2 separate regions of the Homo sapiens genome follow, and region 2 is linked to region 1. The links are contacts of gene promoters, found by promoter capture Hi-C in blood cells and fetal thymus (Javierre and others, 2016). All regions are on one chromosome and are shown on one strand. Each heading gives the region's core, a stretch centred on a gene start or on the middle of the fragment in contact. The rest is flanking DNA. Distances are from core to core; before and after follow the strand shown.

Region 1 (6,982 bases), core at 3,041-5,540:
TTGGGGGTTGGGGTCTTAGAGACCCTTTTCCACGCCCTGATTCTCTTACTAGTGTGTATGCTTTCCTTTTGACTTCTCATGCTGACCGTCTGAGCAGGAGTGAGAAGCAATTTCAAAGGAAAACATCGTTTATCATCTGCTGAAAGAAACCAAAAAGAACACAGGAAAACAAAAAGACAAGGAAAGGGAATGAAAATGTAATTCATTTTATTAAAAAGAAGAATTATTCTTCTGGGACACTGGATAGAAACCTTAATGAGTTACCTAGCTATCATAAATCCTCTAACAGAGAAGAGAAGAGAAAGAAACAAAGACGGAAGAGGGCAGGATAAAAGAAAGAAAAAAGGAAGGGAAAAATGAAGGAAGGAAGTTATCTATTCATTTCTACAGAGACTCTGCTGAGCAGTAGACAAGAAGACTTGGGAAAAATTTAACTGAAACTTTTCCAAAAATCTTTTCAGAGGGATTTTTTCCCTCTGAAAAGCATCATTAGAGGCTGTTCAATACCCAAGGCAAGCCTCTTTCATATTACTTACTGTACATGAAACACTCATGCAATTGAGGCTAGCCAGAGGCCATTTAGAAATTCAATAATTATTCAACCCAAGGGGCTTTCCAAATGGTGAAGTAGCTTCTTAAGAGGAAATTAATATTGAGCAGTATAGCAAACCTAATTGGAATCTTGAGAAAATAGTTCTGTGTCGTTAGAACAGCTAGAGGCTAAAGAAGATCAGGTTGGATGATACCTTCATTTTTGTCTCTTTCCTTAATTATGATGTAAAGGGAAAAATCTTGTTTATTTTCTATGCCAGGAGGGTAGAGGGTGATTTGGAGAGGTTCCAAGTTTATCAAAATCTACCTTCAGTCTGGCAGTAGAAAAGTTTACTTCCTTCATTTCTTTCCTATAGACATTCAAAGAGAGCTAAGGAGATCCAAAAACCTTTTTTTCTATATTTGCAATGCAAGGCAGTTGGGAATTAATGACTGATTTGTTGGTGAGGGCAGTGGGCATTGATCACAAAAGCAGTAAAGCTGTGTTTCTCAAAGAGAGAAAGTCTCTTTGAGATCTTCATTATTTTACTATTTAGAAGAGAAAGGGGCGTTATATCACGTTGGAAGCATCCATGAGTCACTAGTCTCTTCTCTATCTTTCTATGCCTTTCTGTATTAATTACTTTGAAAGCACAACATTCCAAACCCATTGAGCACACAGTGGTCTGATTTCTCCACTTGTGAAAGGTGCTAAAGTCTCACTGTAGGATTAATTTGGGGGTCCAGGCTATGGGCTTGTAGATATGACTACCTTAGACTTTGGTTCTCCTGGCAACTAACCCTTTTTGGATCGTATCTAAGTTGACCTGTTTCACAGTGAGAGAACTCCTCTCCATTACTCAGAATACTGAGGCAGATCACAAGTGTACCACACCTGGCTAATGTTAAGCCAGACAGAAACATCAGGCTCATCTCTTGAGAAGAAGGGTCGCTTATTAAGGATACAAACTATTTTTTTTTTTTTTTTTTGAGACAGGGTCTCATTGCCCAGGTTAGAGTGCAGTGGTGCAATCATAGCTCACTGCAGCCTCAACCACATGGGTATTTTTAAATAAGAAAAAAATACCATCTGATAGATATGAAGGAGCATTGGGTCACTATAAACAAAACAGATTCTAAGAGCAGGAAGAAAGAGTACAGTCTCTTTTCAATAATTTTTTTTTAAACTTGGGAAAGAACACTCACTCTATTCCTATAGACCAGAAAGCAGATAATTGTCCATTATGATTCCACATGACACTATCTTGTTCAGCTGTCACTGAAACAACTTTGAACACTGTCATATGTTCTTCCCAGCTCCTGAACTCTGACCTTTTTATGCCTTAGTTCCACTTTCACAAAAAGGGATTGATGTAATGTGCATTTCAGAGGAAACGACTATAGACATTTAGTGTCATTATAAATGTTGAGAAGTATGCTGGCAGAAATTATGCCTTAAGATCATATATGGATTCTTGTATGGTTTGAAATTGCTTAAAAGATATATATGATCTCTAAAATGTGTGTGTATATATATATGATGTCTTCTTATATATCTATATGTGATATATTTATATATATATAAATCTGTGTATATCACATATATAAATTTGCTGTTATTTGAATTGCCATTACCTCAGTGCTTAGGGGAAGCCATGCACGTTTGTTTCTTTTCAGTACCCAGAGTTAATTAACATAAGTTATCACAGAAGCTCCCATAAGCATTGAGACAATTTCTCTATACCTGTGACTATTTAAGGTTTTGAAAACAAAACAGAAGCAGGTAAGGAGGAAGTACGCTTTACTATTGAAGATTTATTAGGTACACATTTAGATTTGTGAACTCACATTGCTTAGGATGAAAGGGACTCTTGAGGATGTCTGCTGTTTGTTAGTGAACTGCCTGTAACAATTACAATTAGCACACACATGAGCACAATGAACTGGGTAGTCAGACTCAGCCAAAATGAATAGAAATAGCCTCTTACCAAATTTACTTTGAGTAGCCCTTGGACTCTGAGCACTGCTGCCCAGAGCAATATGACTGTAGGTCCAAGTTTGTCAATGACTATGCAAATGTGCTTTCTTCGCTTTTACTCTATTGTCATCTGTCTATTACAATGTTGCTATGGTGACACCTTTCCAATATCCCTGTGCTTCTTTGGTATCCTCTAAGGGGAAGCTGTAATGAAGTGGCTTGGCAAAAGAATCCTCTTGGAATTTTTTTTTTTTCATATGCTACTGAAAACCAGCATGATTTTCCTCTTATGGGAAATGTATAAAGTATGAGTTGGAAATGATGGAAATTAATCTGTACTGACTTGGGCAAGGAATGTGAATGTTATTCATTCTGTTCCAAACTACCTGAAAATATTCTCTTTCTGTTCCTACTTTCCAGGAGATAACATCTTAAGGGACACTGAAGCTTGTGCGTGTGTGAGTAGAACACGTGCTGGGGGCTCTTGAGCTCATGAGGGAGGGGCTACATGTCGGTGGGGTGATAACTGTATGCTGGAAACAATGATAGGTGGTGACCCTGGAGCACTTACCATGTGACAGGTGTTATGCTAAGCATGTTGTATGCATTCCTTCATTGAATGACAGCTACCTATATTATCCTCATTTTATAAGATGAGGTAACAGAGCTTCAGAAAGGTTAGACTCAGCTGCTATGGGTCTGTCTGACTCTGGTGTTCTTCCTCTTAAAAACTGGGGCACTTTGGAAATGAGATTCCTCGGTGATGAACAGAAATATTGCTTAGCGGCTGTATTTTTGTATCTGGCAGTTTTCCCATATTTGAGTCTTATATTCACAATCGGTATCTTTACATTACACAAAAGTGACACAGAATTAGAGTCATTTAATCCAGGGTTGATATCATTAAGTCATGACTATTTATTAAATGTTTCTTACAATATCTGAGATGATATTGCAAAAGATGTAAGTGATTTTAGAAGTTCTCACTTCGTAGTTAGTTGCAGAAACCTCTTTTGGAGGAGGGATGTTTTCTCTATATATCCTAATTTCTACTTAATATATTTCCACACCTCTTTGAAGTGTGTAGTAAGAATGGTAAAATGCAGTACTTCGTCATTTGGTACAGTTCAATCAATATGCATTAAGATGTGATCATATGGGTAATAGAAAAATGTGAAAGATCCAATTCTTTTTCTCCAGAAGGCAGGAAGCTCATATTTGATTTCTGTTACTATAAACTATAAAAACGTTTCAAATGTAGTTTACCCGTAACCATCACCCTGCAAGGGTGATATTGCTCCCCGCCAATTTACGGAGGAGAATACTGAGGCTTTAAGGTTGTAGATAGACCAAGACCACACAAGTAGAGAGTGGCGGGCTGTGGGTTGAGCTTTAAAATCCAGGTTCATCCATGACTCCCAGTGTGTTCTAGTAAATCCACTAGAATCTGAGTATTTTCCAATGATTTATGCTCCGCTCTGTGTCAGGCAGTTCATGGTATTTTTCAACAATCAGAAAATCCTGGGGAAGGCAAACTGTTTCCCCCTCTCTAGGTGCCTTGGAAGTGGCCGTTGTGGACCCAGAGATCATCCTTTCTGATCTGACACCTTCTTCACTGCCCTGGCCCAGTGTCTTTTCTGCAAGGCTGGAAGCCCCCTTAGACTGGTCATGTCCCATCTCTTTCCGGAGGGAAGATGATCCCAAAGACGACTTTTCTCTCCACGGTGCTGCCATACCGCAGGCGGCCGCCAGGGGTCCCCGCTCGGCGTCCCCGCGAGACAGTCGAGCCCCGGCCGGCTGCGCGGCGCGCTGGGTGCATGAGGGGGCTGCTCCGGAGCGACGGCGGCTGCAGCTGGAGCCAGGCGCTCGCCCGTCCGCCGGTTGGCTCGCCGGGACCTCGCGCACCGGCGGCAGAGTCCCTTGCGTGGATTGGCAAGCGACGCCCCACCTGCCCCGAGCTCACCATTTTCTTTCGCGCTGGCTGCAGCTGACCCGGCGAAGGGAGCCGACCGGGCCCTGGGCTGGAGGTAAAACCCCACGGTGAGTAAGAACCCGCTCCAAGCTAGGGGAGGCGGCGCAGCCCGGTGGCTGCTCGCTCCCGATCTCGCCCGGGCGGGCGGCGAGGTTTGGGGCGCACCTGGGCGCGGGTGCAAGAAGGTGCGGGAGGCGGCGGACCGGTCTTCTGCCCGCCGGCCACGGGCTTCCGGGGCTGGAGTCCTCTTCAGACCCCTGCCGGCGCCTGGGTTTCTGGCCGGCTCCTCGTGTGCACTTCCCGGCAGGAACAAGGGTCGCCCACTTTCCACCCCGGGATCTTGATTTGTCCTTGATTTGAAAAGATATAAATCAATAAGATCGTCCTTCTTTCGGGGTGCAAGACTCCGAGCCCATCCCCAGCCGCGGACGCCTGCAGGGTGCGTGTTGGGCTGTGGGTGGCGGGAAGACAAACTTTTACAAAAGTGCGCCTGGGCTGGGGGACAACGCTTGGGCGTCCTGATCCTGAGGGAGGAGTCTCGGCTTGGGGCAGCGTAGGGGAAGTCCGCACCGTCAGCCAGGTCGCCCCCGGGGCTGACGATGCCTCACGGAGGTGGGGAGCGTGTAAAGGCCGTACAAATCGCGCTTAACTTTGGGGCCAACAACTGTCAAACATCTGGAATCCCAGCCCCTCCCTTTCCCTGAACTGGGGAAGAAGGTGAAAACCCTTCAAGTTTTCTTTGATTGCCCCTTCCCACCTTCAGACCCCTGCTGGGAGGGTAAAGCGCCGACCCCTGGTGCCTGGCAAGTACCAGAGACTCTAAATCTCTCGGGATCCCCCCCCTCGCGCTCTTTCCTGACCCTCTCCCCTAACCCTCCCCACAGAGATCTCTCTACGCAGCCGACTGAGATCGTGGCGAATGGCCTTTTGTTTCTCCGCGTTTCCCCTATTGTTTGCCTTTCCAACATCTGGCGGGGCTTGGGGAGAGAAGGAAGCCCCTCTGGTCCCCCTCCCCGGCCCCCACGCCAGCTCCGGCAGGGGATCCCAGCTGGGAAAGTGGAGGAGCCCGACCCCAGCGAGGCCGCCCCACCCCGCCCTTGTGGTTAGAGGGCGGAGGGAAAGTTGTTCCTTCCCCGCCTCCGCTGCTGCCTGTGGCCCAGGGCGCATTTCTCAGATCTCAGCCCAGGCGCGCCGCAAAGGCTCAAATCCGAGAAGGTGCTGCTTTCGAGACAGTGGAAGCGCGTTCCGCCCCAATCCAGAGCGTCCAGTGGTTGGTTCCAGAGGATTTCAATCTCTAGCCAAAGGCGTTGGGGCTGGGCCGCTGCTAGGGCAGTGGGAGGGGATCGGGGCACCTTTGGTAGGCGGAAAGCTGAGATTCTGGGGTCCACAAGTTTCCAAGGGCGGGAGGGCAGGCTAGTCGCCAAAAAGAGAACGAAGATGCAAATAACGAGGAAGCCTTATGACGTTGCCTGGAAATAGTAGTGTGGTGGTTCACTCCGGAATGAACGTGGAGTTCTGGCTTTGAGTACCGCTCCAAGTTTAAATCCCAAGTCCCCTTTCTTCATTGTAGAAAAAGAGGACTCAGACGACGCAACACAGATACGGCTAGAGCACAGTTCCTGCTTCCACGTCCCAGAGAACAAGTGGCTTAGGATGGTCCCGAGTTCCCCTGTGGGTGCGCTTGTTGGGTTGCAGGCGGCCCTGTTTCCCTGCACAAGTCAGATGCTTACACATTGTGTTCATTCTTAGTGTGGATTATTGATTAAAGAACTGGGGCAAAAGCAAAGTAGCTACTCTGAGAAGTCAGGGTCCCCAGATGGTGCCCAGCGAGTTGTCTTGCCTCTGAGGGGAGGCTGACTGAGACTGTGCACCTGTTAGAACCTATGCTACCCCATAGCCTTGCAGTTGACTTGCTGTTGCCAGCTTTTCCTGTGGGATCCCCAATGAGTCCCTCTTCCAAGGAAGCTCAATTACACTTTTGATTCCTCCTCAACCCAGGGGAAGAAAGAGGCTTCTGTAGGAACATTATGATCTATGTACCCACTCAGACATTGTCAGTGGATACCAGAAGCTTGGCTCTGCACAGCTCTGAGAGTTTTCCCTTTGCGAACTCAACAGAACTTTTGAGTTTCCATTTAACATAAAAGAAGTGAGACTGCTAAGCCAGGAATGCGACACATAGAGCACTTTCTCTAGTGATTTCTGGGTATTATATCTCTTTACCTTCCCAACGGTGGAACCAGGAAAAGAAAAAAAAGCAACATCTTTGAAGTACTGCAAGGCACTTTACAAACATTTCATTATGAAAATGATCCCCAAGGAAGGATTCCTTTGAAATTTAGCAGCAGCAACCCAGAAGCAACAAAAAAGACCAAAGTTACTCAAGAAGTACCCAAAGGCATCATTAACAAAATAAAAGAGCATTTCTTGTCTTGGCCTACCCCGCTAAGGAAAACAGGGTAATTATAGTGGAAGTTAAGCTTGTACAGTTTCTTTTAGAA
Region 2 (6,982 bases), core at 1,792-4,291, 110 kb after region 1:
CCAGCAATTTGGGAGGCCGAGGCAGGCAGATCACCTGAGGTCAGGAGTTTGAGACCAGCCTGACCAATATGATGAAACCCCCATCTCCACTAAAAATACAAAAATTAGCCGGGCGTGGTGGCATGTGCCTGTAATCCCAGCTACTTGGGCGGCTGAGACAGGAGAGTCGCTTGAACCCGGGAGGCGGAGGTTTCAGTGAGCTGAGTTTGCACCATTGCACTCCAGCCTGGGCAACAAGAGCGAAACTCCGTCTGAAAAAAAAAAATGGAGGTGAGAATACCGCTCTTCCATGTAGGGAGAAGGTGGGTGCAAGGTTACCCCTCATGGATGGTAAAGGCCTCCCAATACAGATGTGATCATTGCTGTTGTCAAGCTCTGGGTCAGTGGAAGATGTTACTGACCTTTCTATTTTCTTTTTTTCCATAAGTTATTGAGGTATAGGTGGTATTTGGTTACATGAGTAAGTTCTTTAGTGGTGATTTGTGAGATTTTGCTGCACCCATTACCTGGGCAGTATACACTGCACCATATTTGAAGTCTTTTATCCCTTGTCCCCCTCCCACTCTTCCCCCCAGGTCCCTGAAGTCCGTTGTATCATTCTTATGCCTTTGCATCCTCATAGCTTAGCTCCCACATATCAGTGAGACCATATGACCTTTGGTTTTCCATTCCTGAGTTACTTCACTTAGAATAATAGTCTCCAATCTCATCCGGGTCACTGCAAATGCTGTTAATTCATTCCTTTTTATGGCTGTGTAGTATTCCATATATATATATATATATATATATATATATATATATATATATATATATGGAATATACAGATGGAATATATAGATGGAATATAGATGGAATATATAGATGGAATATATATGAAATATATAGATGGAATATGTAGATGGAATATATATATATAATCATAGTTTCTTTATCCACTCGTTGATCGATGGACAATTGGGTTAGTTCCACAATTTTGCAATTGTGAATTGTGCTGCTATAAACATGTGTGTGCAAATATCTTTTTCGAATAATGACTTCTTTTCCCCTGGGTAGATACCCAGTAGTGAGATTGCTGGATCAAATGGTAGTTCTACTTTTAGTTCTTTAAGGAATCTCCACACTGTTTTCCATAGTGCCTGTACTAGTTTACATTCCCACCAGCAGTGTAGAAGGGTTCCCTGATCACTGCATCCATGCCAAAATCTACTCTTTTTTGATTTTTTTATTATGGCCATTCTTGCAGGAGTAAGGTGGTATTGCATTGTGGTTTTGATTTGCATTTCCCTGATCATTAGTGATGTTGAACATTTTTTTTCATGTTTGTTGGCCATTTGTGTATCTTCTTTTGAGAATTGTCTATTCATGTGCTTAGCCCACTTTTTCAAGGGATTGTTTGTTTTTTTCTTACTAATTTGTTTGAGTTTGTTGTAGATTCTGGATATTGGTCTTTTGTCAGATGTATAGATTGTGAAGATTTTCTCCCACTCTGTGGGTTTTCTATTTACTCTGCTGACTGTTCCTTTTTTCGTGCAAAAGCTCTTTAGTTTAATTAGGTCTCAGCTATTTGTCTTTGTTTTTATTGCATTTGCTTTTGGGTTCTTGGTCATGAAATCTTGCCTAAGCCAATGGCTAGAAGGCTTTTTCCAATGTTATCTTCTAGAATTTTTATAGTTTCAGGTCTTAGGTTTAAGTCTTTAATCCGTCTTAAGTTGATTTTTGTATAAGGCGAGAGATGAGGATCCAGTTTCATTCTCCTACTTGTGGCTAGCCAATTATCCCAGCACCATTTGTTGAAAAGGGTGTCCTTTCCCCACTTTATGTTTCTGTTTGCTTTGTTGAAGATCGGTTGGCTGTAAGTATTTGGGTTCATTTCTGGTTCTCTATTCTGTTCCATTGGTGTATGTGCCTATTTTTATACCAGTACCACACTGTTTTGGTGACTATGCCCTTATGGTATAGTTTAAAATCAGGTAGTGTGATGCCTCCAGATTTGTTCTTTTGCTTAGTCTTGCCCTGGCTATGTGAGCTCTTATTTTGGTTCATATGAATTTTAGAATTGTTTTTTCTAATTATGTGAAGAATGATGGTGGTATCTTGATGGGAATTGCATTGAATTTGTAGATTTCCTTTGTCAGTGTGTTCATTTTCACAATGTTGATTCTACCCATCCATGAGCATGGGATGAGTTTCCATATGTTTGTGTCATCTATGATTTCTTTCAGCAGGGTTTTGTAGTTTTCCTTGTAGAGGTCTTTCGACTCCTTGGTTAGGTATGTTACTAAGTCTTTTTTTTTTTTTTTTGCAGCTATCGTAAAAGGGGTTGAGTTCTTGATTTGATTCCCCGCTTGGTCGCAGTTGGTGTATAGAAGAGCTACTGATTTGTGTACATTAATCTTGTATCCAGAAATGTTGCTGAATTTTTTTTTATCAGTTCTAGGAGCTTTCTGGAGGAGTCCTTAGGGTTTTCAAGGTAAACGATCACATTGTCAGCAAACAGTGACAGTTTGACTTCTTCTTTACCGATTTGGATGGCCTTTATTTCTTTCTCTTGTCTGAAGAGGAGTGGTGAGAGTGGGCATTCTTGTCTTGTTCCAGTTCTCAGAGGGAATGTTTTCAACTTTTCCCCATTCAGTATTATGTTGGCTGTGGATTTGTCATAGATGGCTTTTATTACATTAAGATATATCCCTTGTATGCTGATTTTTCTGAGAGTTTTAATCATAAAGAGATGCTGGATTTTGTCAAATGCTTTTTCTGCATCTATTGAGATGATCATATGATTTTTGTTTTTAATTCTGTTTATGTGTATCACATTTATTGGCTTGCATATGTTAAACCATCCCTGTATCTCTGGTATGAAACCCACTTGATCGTGGTGGATTATCTTCTTGATATGTTGTTGGATTTGGTTAGCTAGTATTTTTTTTAAGGATTTTAGCATCTATGTTCATCAGGGATATTGGTCTGTAGTTTTCTTTTTTGGTTATATTTTTTCCTGGTTTTGGTATTAGGGTGATGCTGGCTTCATAGAGTGAATTAGGGAGGGTACCTTCTTTATCTTGCAAAATAGTGTCAAAAGGATTTGTACCAATTCTTCTTTGAATGTCTGGTAGAATTCTGCTGTGAATCTGTCTGGTCCTGGACATTTGTTTTGATAATTTTTAAGTTACCATTTCAATCTCGCTGCTTGTTTTTGGTCTATTGAGGGTTTCTAATTCTTCCTGATTTAAGCTAAGAGGGTTGTATTACTTTTTTTTTTTTTTTTTTTTTGAGGTGGAGTCTCACCCTGTCTCCCAGGCTGGAGTGCAATGGTGTGATCTCAGCTCACTGCAACCTCCGCCTCCCAGGTTCAAGCTATTCTCCTGCCTCAGCCTCCCAAGTAGCTGGGACCACAGGCGTGTGCCACCACACCCAGCTAATTTTTGAATTTTTAGTACACCAAGTTGTACTAAGTGTACACCAAGTTGTACTAAGGGTTTCACCAAGTTGGCCAGGATGGTCTCGATCTCTTGGCCTTGTGATCCACCGGCCCCGACCTCCCAAAGTGCTGGGATTACAGGCGTGAGCCACCGCACCCGGCCAAAGGGTTGTGTTTCTATTTTCTAACCCCAGAGGGTTGGTGTAAAGATCACATGAGCTCATGTATGTAAAGTACTTGTGAGTCCTCAATAAACGGTGGTTTTTTTCACCATCCCTTTGCTGCTAGAGTCCAAAGTACTAGCATTTTTGTTTTTCTTTTCCCTTGGGGATTCTCAGCAGAAGCTGAGAGGCTTAGAAAGTGTTTTTTTAAATCCCAAGGAAGAGAATTGTTGATTCCTGGAGCTGGGCACAGGGAGGCTGTGAGCAGAGGAGCTGTAATAAGATCACTCAAAGGAAACTTTATTGTTCCATTTAAAGCACAGGGTGTCTCTCTTTTTCTTTCCCTCTCATGTATGCATTTCAGGCATTTGACGTTTTGTTTGTTTGTTTGTTTGTTTGTTTTGTTTCCTTTTGTTTTTGAGACGGAGTCTCGCTCTGTCGCCCAAGCTGGAGTACAGTGACGCAATCTCGGCTCACTGCAAGCTCCGCCTCCCAGGTTCACACCATTCTCCTGCCTCAGCCTCCCGAGTTGCTGGGACTACAGGTGCCCGCCACCACGCCTGGCTAATTTTTTGTATTTTTTAGTAGAGACGGGGTTTCACGGTGTTATCCAGGATGGTCTCGATCTCCTCACCTCGTGATCCACCTGCCTCGGCCTCCCAAAGTGCTGGGATTACAGGCGTGAGCCACTGCACCCTGCCGGCATTTGAGTTTTAAAAGTAATACATCCTGTATCTTCATGGTAATAATTTAAGCAATCCCAGGTGTCTAAAATCCCAATAACATTGTTTCTTTCTCCCCTTCAATCGCACACCAGTTCTAAACTCCAGATGTAACTAACGGTAACAGGTGTCCCCTGCTTATTCTAGTAGTCATAAGCACATTTACAGACGTGGAGTGGTGGCTATCTTTTGTTCTGTTTTACGAAGAAAAGCAAAGGAAAGATGAGCTAGCCGTGGTGGCTCATGCCGGTAATCCCAGCTTTTCAGGAGGCTGAGGCAGGAGGATTACTTAAAGCCAGACGTTTAAGACCAGCCTGGGCAACATAGCAAGATCCTGCCTCTACAAAAAAAACTTAAAAATTGGCTGGGCATGGTGGTACATCATGCCTGTAGTCCTAGCTACTTGGGAGGGTGAGGCAGGAGGATCACTTGAGCCCAGGAGGTCAAGGCATTCCACTCCAGACTAGATGACAGAGCAAGACCCTATCTCAAAAAAAAAAAAAAAAAAAAAAAAAATTAAAAAGAAATTACTCCAGGGGTTCCACAGAACCTCCAAATGATATCTAAAGTCTTTAAGAATGTGTTTTATAGGTAGAATATCTATAGCTTTTTCAGGTTGTCAAAGGAATCTAGCAGCCCACCCCTCCATCAAATTAAGCACCAGCCATTTTAAACTTCCTAAAAATCCCAAACGTGGAGATTAGACCAGATTCTCTGAAGTCCCTCTACTATTGCCATTTCAAAGAAAAGCTCTTTTTTCCCTGATATGCCACTTACTAGATTTCTCTTGTTAACTGATCCTTAAGCATACCTATACTTAAGGTATGAGGTCCTACGAGATCATGAAGGGAAATCTTTATGCTTAACTGCAATAGCCAAACCTTTTCCATGAGTTTATTAAACTGTAGTTATTCAGAATTCAATAATACTTGTATATGCTGCAAAATCATTTTATCAATCAGGAAATTGTATTAACCCCAAATACATTTTTTATCATGCAATGAGAGGACAAAAACATATTGCAAGCCCAGATACCAACAAAGTTTGAATGTTTTTCCTTTTAGGATTACCTACAGATAATCCAGGGGTGAAAGCATGTGAAAAGCAAATCTAATCATATGTCTGTGTGAACTAACTAAATAAATACACGCACGAAACCCCATATTGAAATCTATATGAGTGATAAAATCCACTCGTATTGCAGTTTAGAACCAGATGTGATGAAATTTTATTTTCCTCAGCAACAGCTCTTCAGTTAAGGGGACACTTACACATCTGCTTGGTCATCCCCAGAGGATGCAGTTGTTTTTAGATCTAAAGCCAAATCCATTGAAATTAGCTAGGACCTTTTCCATTTGGAAGTGAGAAATGAGGATTTTTCTCACACAGTTAGCTGATGGGGCTCTGCTAGCCTGTTGAGACAATTAACGCAAAATTTACACTGATATAAAATGTAAGTGCCTCTCATTTATTTTTTAATAATCCCATCTAAAATTGACCAGATTAATTTTTTTACGGGAAAGAACACTTTCACAGAGAAGAATAATGAATGGGAAGACTCAGAGACTCCAATTCCTATTTTTTCTTATGTTTTATAATTGAAAATAACTTTAGACTTACAGATAAGTTCTAAAAAAAAAAAGTACATAGTTCCCATATATCATTCACCCAGCTTCTGCTAATGTTAGTGTATTATATAACTTTAGAGCCATCTTCAGAGGCAGGAAATTGACATTAATTAAATCATATTTTATAATTTTTCTAAAAGCAAACAGTACCATTTCACTTTTAACCTATGTTTGAGAGAAACTGTCATATTTGTCTTTACATATTATGCACACCCATAAAGCCATCTTCTAAAAATTCCTTTATTCCATAGGATTTTAAAATCTGGTTAGAGGGCTGGGCGTGGTGGCTCACACCTGTAATCCTAGCACTTTGGGAGGCTGAGGCAGGAGATCACCTGAGGTCAGGAGTTTGAAACCAGCCTGGCCAACATGGTGAAACCCCGTCCCTACTAAAAATACAAAAATTAGCCAGGCATGGTGGTGCACACCTGTAATCCCAGCTACTCGGGAGGCTGAGGCAGGAGAATTGTTTGAACCCCGGAGGCGGAGGTTGTGGTGAGCCAAGATCGCACCACTGCACTCCAGCCTGGGTGACAGAGCGTCTCAAAAAAAAAAATTAAAAAATAAATAAAACTGCGGTTAGAGTATCATTCAGCTAAACTGTCTCACGGGATTTCTTTCTCATTTTATATAAGAATTCTGAAGATCTGAGCAGCAATTCCTACAAGCAGCTGCTTGGAAGGCCTGCATGCATTTGACTTATTGGGGAGGAAAAAACCTCATGACCGTGTCACCTTGTGTTTATGTTGCTGATTTAAGTAGTGAGGCAGCACTTTGAAAACTGCACCACGTGTAACTGGTTCTTTATCACTAAATCCAAGGCCATAGGGAGTATAACCTCAGTAGCAGGAGCCAAGATAAACTGACTTTTGTTCAAGAGTCTGACATTTTAAACCTAATCCTCATATTAGCTGTGCACAGGCAAGAAGTGGGTCTTACTTCATGTGGGGAATCCTCAGGGTCATCCCACTGACCAGCCCTAATTGAATGGAGGCCATGAGTTTCAGAATGGGCTCTCAGCAGCTGCAAACATCTGCAACAGTCTGGTTCAGA

What was found. The method cuts DNA at HindIII sites, captures the fragments that hold promoters and counts their contacts. A CHiCAGO score of 5 or more calls a contact.
Region 2: a fragment that was not itself captured here is called in contact with the fragment with the promoter of MOB3B in region 1 in 5 of 17 cell types (total B cells, monocytes, naive B cells and 2 more); the score reaches 12.8 in total B cells.

Annotation. Positions count from the first base shown.
Region 1 is chr9:27,527,122-27,534,103 of GRCh38, reverse strand. MOB3B (MOB kinase activator 3B) reads left to right here and starts at 4,290. Exons shown (of 4, transcript NM_024761.5): 1 at 4,290-4,549. LOC124902107 (dapper homolog 3-like) reads right to left here and starts at 5,648. Exons shown (of 2, transcript XM_047424279.1): 1 at 5,378-5,648; 2 at 3,404-5,084. The coding sequence starts at 5,648. The coding sequence ends at 4,096. RefSeq lists silencers at 4,243-4,542, 5,513-5,562. The HindIII fragment of the contact is 3,596 bases long and covers 2,959-6,554 here.
Region 2 is chr9:27,414,380-27,421,361 of GRCh38, reverse strand. All of the region lies in intron 2 of MOB3B (MOB kinase activator 3B), which reads left to right. Among named protein-coding and RNA genes, the nearest start is that of IFNK, 110 kb to the left of the region's middle. The HindIII fragment of the contact is 8,611 bases long and covers 1-6,982 here.